2 separate regions of the Homo sapiens genome follow, and region 2 is linked to region 1. The links are contacts of gene promoters, found by promoter capture Hi-C in human tissues and cell types (Jung and others, 2019). All regions are on one chromosome and are shown on one strand. Each heading gives the region's core, a stretch centred on a gene start or on the middle of the fragment in contact. The rest is flanking DNA. Distances are from core to core; before and after follow the strand shown.

Region 1 (5,978 bases), core at 129-2,628:
GGAGTGCAGTGGTGCGATCTCCGCTCACCACAACCTCTACATCCCAGGTTCAAGCAATTCTCCTGCCTCAGCCTCCCGGCTAGCTGGAATTACAGGCATGCACCACCACGCCTGGCTAATTTTTGAATTTTTAGTAGAGATGGGGTTTCACCATGTTGGCCAGGTAGGTCTCGAACTCCTGACCTCAGGCAATCCGCCCACCTCGGCCTCCCAAAGTGATGGGATCACCGGAGTGAGCCACTGCGCCCTACCCCCCCATAGATTCTCGACCTCAGCATATACTCCCATCACCAATGGGCATATAATTGTTATCCTATTACAGTCTATTTATTTTCCTACATAAATTATTATTGTTCATTGCGCAACACTTAGGAAACTGATAGAGTATCTTTATGGAATTGTAGGGCTGAGAAAGCTGCTAAATGGGCAGGCAAAAATGGACTCCCTGTCTCTCCTCCACCCAGCTTGCGACCCTCCTCTTATCTCTGACTCACGTTCATTGTCGGGCAAATGCCCCACAACCTAAAACAGACATGGCTACCAAAGGGGGCCAAGCAGTTATGCGATGGATTAGACATGGGACCAAATGGACTTCTTTGGCCACTGTGCTCACAAAGGGGAGACATAGGAGAAGCTCAGGAAAAAATAAAGCGTTATACTCACAAGTCCTAAAGACAGGAACCATGCCAACCATACAGGGCCACATGGGAAAGACACCAGGATGGTCAACAGGCAGAAGATCATCGTGAGGGAAAGGTTCAGAGCACAGCCTCTATTGCCTTCCTGTTAAGCGAGCAGGATTCAGACACCAGGAACCCTCCGGTCCCACTGGCCACGTGCTCAGGGCTGGGTAATTTCCTCCCGCTCAAGGGTAGGAACATACCTGCGCTTAAAACTGAGGCTGCCGCACCTCCGCAGACGTAGACAACGAATTCCTGGAGCCCAAGGTCGGCCGGGGTTGGGTTCCTGTCGCCGCACGCGTGGCCCGCCCGAAACCCGCTACAAAGTAGCGGCGTGTCTGCCCTAGGGAGGCAAAGCGCAAACTTGTTACCGCGCCGGGACCTGCCCCGGGATTCTCCCAGCGGCTCCGCAGGACGCAGCGCCTGTGCCTCGCGCGGCCCTGGGACGGGCACGGCCGTCCGCCCCCTGGGCCGCCGAGGGCTGCTTTACCCCTCCGTTCTGGCCGCGGGCAGCAGAGGAGCTCGGGGCGGGCAAAGCTCGAGGGGACACGGGGCGAGCCCAGACCCTGCCTGGGAGCCCTCCCCGCCGGAGACCAAAGGGCAGAAACGCACTCACAGTGCAACTCCGAGGGATAAACTGGCCGACGATCGCCGCCAGGCCAGAAGACCAAGAAGAAGGCTCGCGGCGGGAACTGAAGTGAGCGGGGACACACGAGGGCTGGGAAGATCCTGGGTTGGGGCGGAGCGGGGCTGGGAAGATCCTGGGTTGGGGCGGGGCGGGGCACCGCAGAGCGGACAGCCGGATTCAGGCACCAGGAACCCACCGGTCCCACTGGCCAGGTGCTCCGAGCTGGGTGATTTTCTCCCGCTCAAGACTAGGAACATACCTGCGCTTTCGGCGCAGGGAAGACTCTGGGCGAGGGCGGGGCTGGGAGGAGGGCCGCGGGGCAGGCAGCCAATCCCAGGAAACTTCGGGACGAGGGCAGGACGGGGGCTGGACGGGCCCAGCCATTGGCCACCTGTGTCCACTGCCTGCCTAGGTCTGGCTTCCTAGGTCTGGCGGGTGAGACACAAGGCGAGCCTGCACGAAGCATCCTTCGAACCTCAGGTACCCTGGGCAGGAGAATCGGCTTCTTCAGGCATCCTGCTGGGCCTTGGCCCTCGTCGATCTGGTTCTCTCAGCCCCTCGGTTTCTCCCCTGGGGAGACTTCGCGATTACCCTCTCCTCCCCTTGGCGCCTAGGCTCTCAGTCACGCGACCGCCTAGAGCCCTGAGCTGCTATTTATGCCGCGTTTTTATTCACTTAGGTATTCAGCACGCCTTCATCAGGTGTGTACTCTGTGCCAGGCAATCTTCTAATCCTTAAATGGACGAAACAAAGGCCTCCCTTGGACTGACATTTTTAATGAAGAATAAAAACCCATAATGAAATATAAAAATATTAACGTTATAAGAGCTAAGGGAAAAAACATGTGTTACAACTTGAAAATACAAAAATAGGAAATCATCTTTCTCTGTGGACGAATGAAACCCCTGATTCTAAGAAACAAAGAAACAAAACTCATCATGACTGGTGTTCTGTACTCTTTGGAAAATACGTTTTACTGTAGAAATGACTAAATGCGATGAAAGACTCTTTACCAGAAGCAGTGGCTGGTTGGCGGCGCCTGTACGCCTGAGGAGCACCCTTTTTGTGTCCATGTTTGATAAAGCAGAAGAGACCTAAAGAGACAAGGGGCGGCCGGGCGCGGTGGCTCACTCCTGTAATCCCAGCACTTTGGGAGGCCGAGGCGGGCAGATCATCTGAGATCGGGAGTTCGAGACCAGCCTGACCAACATGGAGAAACCCCGTCTATACTAAAAATACACAATTAACCGGTTATAGTGGCGCATGCCTGTAATGCCAGCTACTTGGGAGGCTGAAGCAGGAAAATCGCTTGAGGCAGAGGTTGCGGTGAACCGAGACTGCGCTATTGCACTCCAGCGGGCAACAAGAGCCAAACTCTGTCTCAAAAACAAACAAACAAACAAACAAACAAAAAAAAAACCACAAGGGCCATCGCTCTGGGGCGTGGGACATATGGTCCGCAGTTGGGATACTAACTGTTGTATGGATGGGGGAGTGGTCCTCAAACCCTGGAGCTTCTCAGTCCCTGCCTCTTTCAACCTCTAAATGGGCCCACTGCTTTTCCCTTCCCACTGTTCTGCCGGCTGGAGCACCCCCAGCACCAGCAGCGCGGCTCCCACGCCTCTGGTCTGGGCTCTGCCAGCCCCACGGGTCTAAGCTCTCCCCAGGCCATTATTTTTTGTCTCCTCTTTCTTCATTGAGGTCCTCTCTCTGTCACTTGCTCTTTTGCCTGGCTCAAGACATGGGTTTAAACACTGTTTATACTACCCCTTGCTAATGTTGACTCACTACCCCATATCTTTTTCTTTTTTCTTTTTTTTTCCAAGTAGCACTCTTTGAGATGTCCTTTTATTGATGTTTCTTTACACGTTGTTTTTACATGCATTACAGTGTGATGAACATATCCATCCACTGAAATAACATTATTCTCAACTACGCAAAAGAAAGCAATACTCTTAGAAGAATCCTTTCTGCATATGTCTTTAGACACTTTTACATTCATAACACTGGTCACCAACCCATTTCTATGTTTAAGTAACTTGACTTTTTCTCCTTCTCCCTTTCTCTACCTATTAAATTCACATTTTATTTTACCCCAAGCTACTTTTACCTAGTACAGTGTCTATGTTTTTCACTGTAAGATTGAGTAAGGCCAGAGATGAGGAGAATAGTGATTGTGAAATAAAATGAAAGATATACTCAATTCTTGGGAGCAATAGCCTTGTTGTTGGGTTATGTTTATTCATTTATAAAACTAATGAGAACCTACCATAGTCAAGCACTGTAGTAGACCTGAGAGAAAATAGTGAATAAAACCCCAAATCAAGGACCTTGCCCTTGTGGAACTTTTAGTATAGTATATGGAACAGGCATTGATACACGAATCCTGTATAAATGTAAAATTACCACTTAAGAGCTGGAGTGGTGGTGTCAGGGACCTAGCTGTCAGTTTGAGGGAAGGATGATTAAGCACAAAATTGAAGATCATTTTATAAAGCAAAAGAGTGGAGCTTGGGGTATAGGTAGAGGAAAGAGGATGTACAGTGTGTGTGCTCTAGGAAGGAGCTCACTGTATCCATGGACATGTAGAAAGGCTGCCATGACTTTCTACACAAAAAGCCAAGGGGTGAGGTGGGGTGGAGAGAGATATAGGATAAGGCATGATATAATCTGGGCTACAGAGGGGATGTGGCTGGAGATGCTGGTGACTGCCAGACCATGCTGGACTTTGTAGACCATGTTTAAAATGTCCATAAATGATGCTCATTAATAATGTGTTGTATAAATGCATGTCAATAAAAGTTGATGTTTGCAAGACCAGCATGTGTTCAGGCCAGCATGTTCACAGCTAATAATAGCTAACCATTATTGCACACTTATTTCATTCTTTGCACTCCTTTAACTGCTCTGTATAGATTATCTCATTTAATTTTTCCAGCTACTGTACCCAATAGGCAAGATTAAATTCCTCATTTTAGGCAGAGTGTGGTGGCACATACCAGTAATTTCAGTGTTTGGGAGACCGATGTAGGAGGATCACTTGAGGCCAGGAGTTCAAGACCAGCCTGAGAAAAATTAGCCTATTGTGGTGGCATGTGCCTGTAGTCTCAGCTACTCAGGACGCTGAGGTGAGAGGCAGTGAGCTATGATAGTACCACTGCATGCCTCGGTGACAGAGCAAGATCCCATCTCTAAATTTTTTTTTTTTTTTTTTTGAGACGGAGTCTCGCTCTGTTGCCCAGGCTGGAGAGCAGTGCTGTAATGTCTGCTCACTGCAACCTCCTCCTCCCGGGTTTAAGCGATTCTCCAGCCTCAGCCTCCTGAGTAGCTGGGATTACAGGTGCGCATCACCATGCCTGGATAATTTTTGTATTTTTAGTAGAGACAAGGTTTCACCATGTTGGTCAGGCTGGTCTCGAACTCCTGACTTCATGATCCACCCGCCTCAGCCTCCCAAAGTGCTGGGATTACAGGGGTGAGTCACCACACCTGACCTCTAAAAATTTTTTAAAAAATCTTCATTTTGCCCTTGAGGATCCACATATTGCTTTTTTTTTTTTTTGAGATCTAGTCTATTCCCAGTCCAATAGTGTAGATGGTTAGTAAACATATTAGGAGTTCTGAGCACATCTAATCAGTGTAGTAGCTCGTGACTCAAATGCCACTCTAACAGTTGCACATGTGTGCACAAACACAAATTTAGAAAATTGAAATTACAGCTGCAATGGCAAGACGGTAGACACAGAATTCCATGGCAGCATGGAATTCTCAATTTCTGTAACTTTGAAGGTGCTTTTCTTTAAAAAATTGTGGGTCTTAATTTGGAATGCTTTAAAATACAGAATTATATTAAGGCAGTCATATTGGAAGATGCATGTTGACCTGCTGAACCTAAATAATACAGCTTCCTCTCCTGTAGGATTTGATGATATGGATTTTAAATAGTGCTTTTTCTTTAAAAAAAGTTCCTTAAAATGATTACATATTATCCATTATGCTTAGCATCCAATGTATTCTATGAAATCACTATATAAATTAAAGTAATAATTTATACAGTATGGTCAGACTAATTAGCATAAGGCACTCAGTTGAAAGTAGAGCTGAAATAAATGATTGAACTCTATTAAAGAAAATTGAGTGAAGAGACAGACCAGCTTCTTCTGTAGCATGATTTTAATGAGGCTGCTGAGTTGAGTTCTGTTCTGTATCAAAAAGGGAACACAAATCTCTTGAGGTTCTATTTCTGGCTCTACCAAAGGCTTTGCTCTTATACCTAGAGCAAGATGGAACCTGTTACTTTTTTTCAATCTGCAAAATGCAGGCAATGTTTTTAGCTTTTTTCACAGGAGTAGCAGGATTAATGAGTACCACAAATGGCTTTCCCTATTTTGTAACTGCAAATGCATTCTTGTTGCCATATTTTCATGAGAAATGAACATCTGCTGGTTTTTTCCAATAAGGCTAAAACTTTCAAATGTGGAATATGTAGGTTATGAGCTCCACTTTAAAATTCCAGTTCCAAGTTTAAACAAAAGGAGAATAAGATAAATATTTCAAGTACTAACAAAACAGTAAAGAAGGAAGTGAAAGTGTTCTTATAAATGGAGATCTTTTTTTTTTTTTTGGAAATCTATTTATTTTCGGTAAGATTAGTAAGAGTATCTGAAATA
Region 2 (5,660 bases), core at 109-2,608, 140 kb after region 1:
CAGTACCCAGACCAAGAAACAGAAAACCAGCACCCTGAAGAGACCCTCTCATAACCTACTCCTGTCACTACCTCCCCACAGGCAATCATCATCTTGAACTCTAACACTCTACCTTATACTTACTCAACCATACACCTTGGGGATTTTCCATATCAGTAAGAAAAGCCTGTAACCTATGGACATGGTGTGGACCACACCAGTGGGTTTTGGCCTGTTTGTGCTTAGTACTTAGCACCTGGTAAGCTTTCAGTAAATGTTGCATGAATGAAATAGTCATATGAAGGAATGAATCATATCCACAGGTTAACAGGAAAGGCCCTTCTTTTCTTAGAAACTCTCCCTTTGCTTTATGCATAGTTCTTCTGGCTGAGTAAGTAACCCAGACCTTCCTTCCAGCCCTACAAACAATTGTTGTTTCTCAGTTAATCCTGGGACAGAAATAAATTGGCTCCAGAACTTGAACGTGGTGCAATATGTTCCCAAAGACATATGCTTTCTATAAGAGAGTCTGGAATCCAAAGTACATTGGGAGAATCTTGGAAGGATGTATTGACAGATGAAAAGGGAAAAAAAGAAACAAACTGCAACAACAAAGAACAATACCCTGGGGCTAAGGAGTGGGGGAATGTTGGTTTTGGTACAAATAAATGGGTCCAATTAATGCATGTTGGTGTTTGCTATTTTGGTTTCTGTTTAGATTCATGTTTTGATACCAGACTTTTCTTGTGGAGCCGTTCAAGTCAACAGACTGTTGGGAAGTGGAGTCTTTTCAGCCTTTTCCATCAGAATAACACATTCCTTATAATCAGCCATACATGACTGAGTCCTGTTTGCATGTTTGCATGTTAGTTCATGGTATAAGGCACTTTGAAGATGAAAGACTGAAGCATAACTACTGCAATTGCAAATGCACAGATTAATAAAGCAAGTCCGAGTCACTGTTCTTTCTTTCATTTTCTAAATCTTTGCTGGCTGTGATTTTAAGACATCAGTTCTGGTGAGAGAAGACAGTTTCCTTCCACTATTCCATCCCAACCTTTGCAGCAGAGGTTGCTGAGACCCCTTTTGAGGTGTGCGCCCCTGAGAGAGCTCTTTGATGTGTTGATTGTCGTCTATCACTGGGGTTGTCAAAAGAAGGGTTTCTGCTGCTGCTTCCAGTTTCTAGGCGCCCTCTAAGAGTTTGGGATCCTGATTCCTCCTCCACATGGTGCTCCTCCACTCAGTTTCTCTTTATTTGTGACTCATTTGTCCCTACAACAGGCAAGGGGCAGGTCATTCTCCAGCTATGGGCAGGGCCTTGTAGAAGGAAGACAGTTCAATAGGAGCTTTGGCCTTAAGGGGTACTAAGCCTAGGAAGCACCCAGGTTGACACTGAAGTTGGGCCTTGGTAATGGCTTTTCTCCCACCAAGAATTAGTAACAGCACTGCCACTCCCTCCGAACACTTCACATCTCATGTTTCATTCATTTATTCATCCATTCAACAAATATTTATTGACCAACTACTGTGGGGCCAGACACCATTCTAAGCATCAGAGATTCATCAGTGAACCAAAGAGAAAAGAACCCCTGCTGTCACAGAGCTTATGTTTTAGTGGAGGGAGAGTGACAGTCAATAAAATCAGTAAGTCAGTGGGTAAGTAAGGAAGGTGGTGAGTGCTATGGAGGAAAATCAGGTGGGGGAGGGTAAGTGACAAGCATCACTTTATGCAAGCCTTAGAATCTATGAAGCAGGCAGAAGCCCCATTTCACACAGAGACACAGAGGCTTAACGAGGTGAAATAATTTGTCCAAAGCGGCTGAACTAGTAAGCTGTAGGGTTGAGGTTGAAATCAAAGACCATCTCACTGCAGAGCAGTAACCGTTCTACCTTTCATTCCACATACCGCCTTTTCCCAACAAATTCTTCAAACGAAAAGCATTTTTATTAGCATTCATCTCTGAAAACTCTGTATTTTTAGTTCTTTAGAAATATCAGCCAATCACCAGAGCCTTGTGGGACTTACTTTTACTTACACTTAATCCCATTGCAAAAGGTTTCCATGCTGCTAGAGCCTGTCGGCTATTCAGCTTGACCTCTCATCTGCTGCAGTTGATGACTTCCTTTTTCCTGAAATGTCCCCCCTGCCCTCCACTTTCTAAGCCCTCTTAGCTTCTCTCCCTCCTTGGAGGGCTCCTCTTGCTCAACTTGCTCCATGACAAGCTGTGTTCCTGACTGCTCTGGCCTCTGGCCCCTGATCTTCTCCCAAACATCCTCCCTTGGTGGCCCTGGCCCTGTCCATAGTTCAATGCCTCACACATGCCAGTGTCCCCAGATTGCTACCACTGGCCCAAGCTCTGCTGAGCTATAAGGCTGTCTCTCAGGCTCCTAAATTCAACAAGTCTGAAGTGCAAGTTTTCTTCTTTTCCAGTTCTGCTTCCCAATAGAAACAATGTTAACACTGTCCATTCAGTCACTCCAAACTAAGCAAATGGCCCTAGACAGCCTCCACTCATTTACGGCTGCATCCCCTCAATCCCCGTCCGGTGGAATCCACCAGACTTCATCCCTGCCCCCTTGTCCCCTTGGCCCTACTTGACCTTAGACTTTCATCTTCTCACCTTCCCTCCCCAAGCCAGTCTGCTCTTGTTTCTGTCTTGTGCACTGCTGCCAGGGTGAACTTCATAAAATGTAAACTGGTTATATATTCCTAGCAAACATCCAATGGCACTTCAGTGTTTCTGGTCAAATGTCAAAACTCCAGCCCTCTGGGATCTAGTGTCTGCTTATCTCTGTCTTCCTATTCTTCTACTCCCTGCAGGTCACCCTTAGCTCCAGCCATTTGGAATTGCCTTCACTCACCTCAATATATGATGGCATTTCATTACTTTGGAGTTCCTAACTCCTGCTGGTCTGGCAAAATCCAACTCCCCTGGGAAGCTTTCTCTGACTCCCTGACTGAGCTACTCCTCTGTGTCCTCACATCCCATCCACCACACCACTTATCTCTCCTCTCTGCAATCCTCAATTTTCTTATCCATCTCCTTAACAAACTGTAAGCTACATGATATAGCTGTGCTTTGGCAGGTAGGGAACCTGGTTTGTCTCTATATCTTCCTTAACCGCAACAATGACTAGCATACAAAAGAGCCTCTCCATCACTGCACACTGTCAGATGCAATACGCAGACTGCCAAAATCAAGTTTGTGTTTTTGCTTTACAGTTCATACCAAAATCTATCTCACTTGAACTTATGGATCATGTTTAGCTAATGTTATGCAAATACTGAACCCTATTTCATAGCATGGAGTATGATTAAGAAAAAGAAAATATAAACAATGGTTTCAAATAGTGTTGCAAAGAGGAATTCCAGGACTTGTACTCATTTAATCAACAAACGTGAACACTGAGATATTTTCCTCTTGTCGGAAATGCCCTTAAGTCCAATGGACCTAATCCAATAGTTCAACCCTCTGAATCTTGCTTTTTCTTCTCTCCTCTCCTCTCCCTTTCTTTCTTTTCTTTCCCTTCTTTCTCTCTCTCTCTCTCTTTCTTTCTTTCATCTTGCTATGTTGCCCAAGCTAGTTTCAAACTCCTGGGCTCAAGCGATCCTCCTGCCTCAGCCTCCCCAGCAGCCGGAATTACAGGAGCACTACTGCACCCTGTCTTGTTTTTCTTATATGAACAATGTGGAATGGGACTAGATGACCTCCAAGGCATGTTCAGCTCTCACCATCCAAGGACCTGACATCAGTCTTTACTGACAGCCCATCATTTTTGCTCTGCATTCCAAAGCATCCTTTACCCCTGCTGTATATTCCTCTGCAGGTATCTGTCCAATCCACAAGCCAACAATCTCCCCTGCCCACATGGTCATAGGAAAGGCTCCTAGCATCCATGCAGTTACAATGTGACCCTGTCCTTCAGCCACAGTTGATTGGTCCTGGAATGGCCCCCTGACCCAGGGTGGGCCAACTAGAGGCCCTTCCCTGGGAATTCAGGCTTGACCTAAGATAGATAAGGTTCAGTCAAAGCTGTGGCAATAGCTACTCAACCATTCATTTATACTATTTATTGAGCATCTACAAAATGCAGGGCGCTGTTCTCATGCAGGGCAGAATGGGTCTCACAGAACTGCCTGGTTTCCTGATGGCTTTCCAGTTCTTAGTCTCAATCCTTACTGAGGCCTCTCTCATTGCTGTCCTTGGGCTCCCCAGGACATCCCATGGGCCTCATAATAAATTTTCCTTTCTTTAAGTTATTGCAATTTGTTGGCATCTTACTTCCAATGGAAAGACTTTTAACTTACCCCCTCACCACCAGCAGCTTTTCAAAGCCTACCTGAGCTTTGAAACTACCTTGCTCTAGTTCTCTTTGTGGTCCTCTTTTTGTTGCCACTTAAGGCAATGGGGGACTCATATCCACTCAAACAAGGGACCCAGAGGTAAGCACTGGGCTTTCTGTGAGTCTTTTTCATAGTTTTAAAATTGTTTTCCAATTAAGCATGGCCACATAAGAAATGAAAGAACAAAAAAAGAACTTCTTAAAAAGCACACATAAAAGGAGGTAAAAGGGCCTCATGCAGTTTCATTAGATAAAAACCCACCCTTCTCATGTCAATTTTAGCAGAGAAAGCATCTTGACAAATCATGTCCTTTAGTCAAAACAAGCTGAGGTCCAAACATATGGAGTAGATAGAAAATAAATTATTTTCAGGAGACTGAGATCCAAACCACAAATTCCAGAAATGCACTTTAAAAGTGCTGCCTATTAGACATGCTAGTTTTAAATTAAATTAATGTTGTAGGGAGAGGGGTAAGGTATGTCTTGATTTATTTGTTAGATCATTATCAAGCTTTCCTCTAAGGAGCTCAAGGTATTCCATGCACAAGGATTTTAGAGAAAAGGCTGTTTGAAGAATGTCAGGTTCTGCCAAAGCTGTTTCTCCCTAGTTTGCTAGAACCACTCCCTAGTGGGCTTCACACACTGCCCTTTGAAGCTGACAGCTTTGTGTGGCTAACCGCAAGTCTATCCTCTGGTTGAGAAGTACATCAAGTTACTTCAAACACTTTCTCAGAACTGCTGGAAAATGATCTAGTGGGTATACCTGCTCTTCTCCCCAGCTCATCTGGCTTACTTTATGGGACTTGATGGAGCAAACTTGGGAGAGGAAAGTTCCCTAGCTCAGTTTCTTATCCGGAAGTATTTTTAAAAATGTTATATTGTTAAAAAACATTATGGAAGAATAGCAAACAGGTCTTTCACTAACAAAGCCTTTCTGGGCTCACTTATTTTGAAACCAGCATAGAAGCATGAGTGACTTTTCCATCCTCTAGATTGGAGGGAAAACTCCTAGGATTAGCCAAACACTGCCTTGCCTAGCTGGACAGCCAAACATATTTAGGTGGGGTACAGATTGTATTTTCCAAAAGTGCCCATGACAGTATTTTCTGCTCCTCATGCTCTTGATCCACCTTTTTTTTTTATACTTTAAGTTTTAGGATACATGTGCACAACGTACAGGTTTGTTACATAAGTATACGTGTGCCATGTGGGTGTGCTGCACCCATTAACTCATCATTTAGCATTAGGTATATCTCCTAATGCTATCCCTCTCCCCTACCCCTACCCCACAACAGTCCCCAGTGTGTGATGTTCCCCTTCCTGTGTCCTTGTGTTCT

What was found. Contacts are between HindIII fragments. The study calls those that stand out against the background at their distance.
Region 2: a fragment that was not itself captured here is called in contact with the fragment with the promoter of ERVMER34-1 in region 1 in 4 of the 25 tissues and cell types used here (H1 embryonic stem cells, mesenchymal stem cells, mesendoderm cells and 1 more).

What each region holds. Positions count from the first base shown.
Region 1 is chr4:52,750,047-52,756,024 of GRCh38, forward strand. ERVMER34-1 (endogenous retrovirus group MER34 member 1, envelope) reads right to left here and starts at 1,379. Exons shown (of 3, transcript NM_001242690.2): 1 at 1,297-1,379; 2 at 884-1,023. It overlaps LOC107986281 (a long non-coding RNA gene), which reads left to right and starts at 921. Exons shown (of 2, transcript XR_001741691.2): 1 at 921-1,377; 2 at 1,988-3,511. The HindIII fragment of the contact is 17,697 bases long and covers 1-5,978 here.
Region 2 is chr4:52,889,723-52,895,382 of GRCh38, forward strand. The region is part of intron 7 of SCFD2 (sec1 family domain containing 2); the gene reads right to left. Among named protein-coding and RNA genes, the nearest start is that of RASL11B, 30 kb to the left of the region's middle. The HindIII fragment of the contact is 5,036 bases long and covers 1-3,876 here.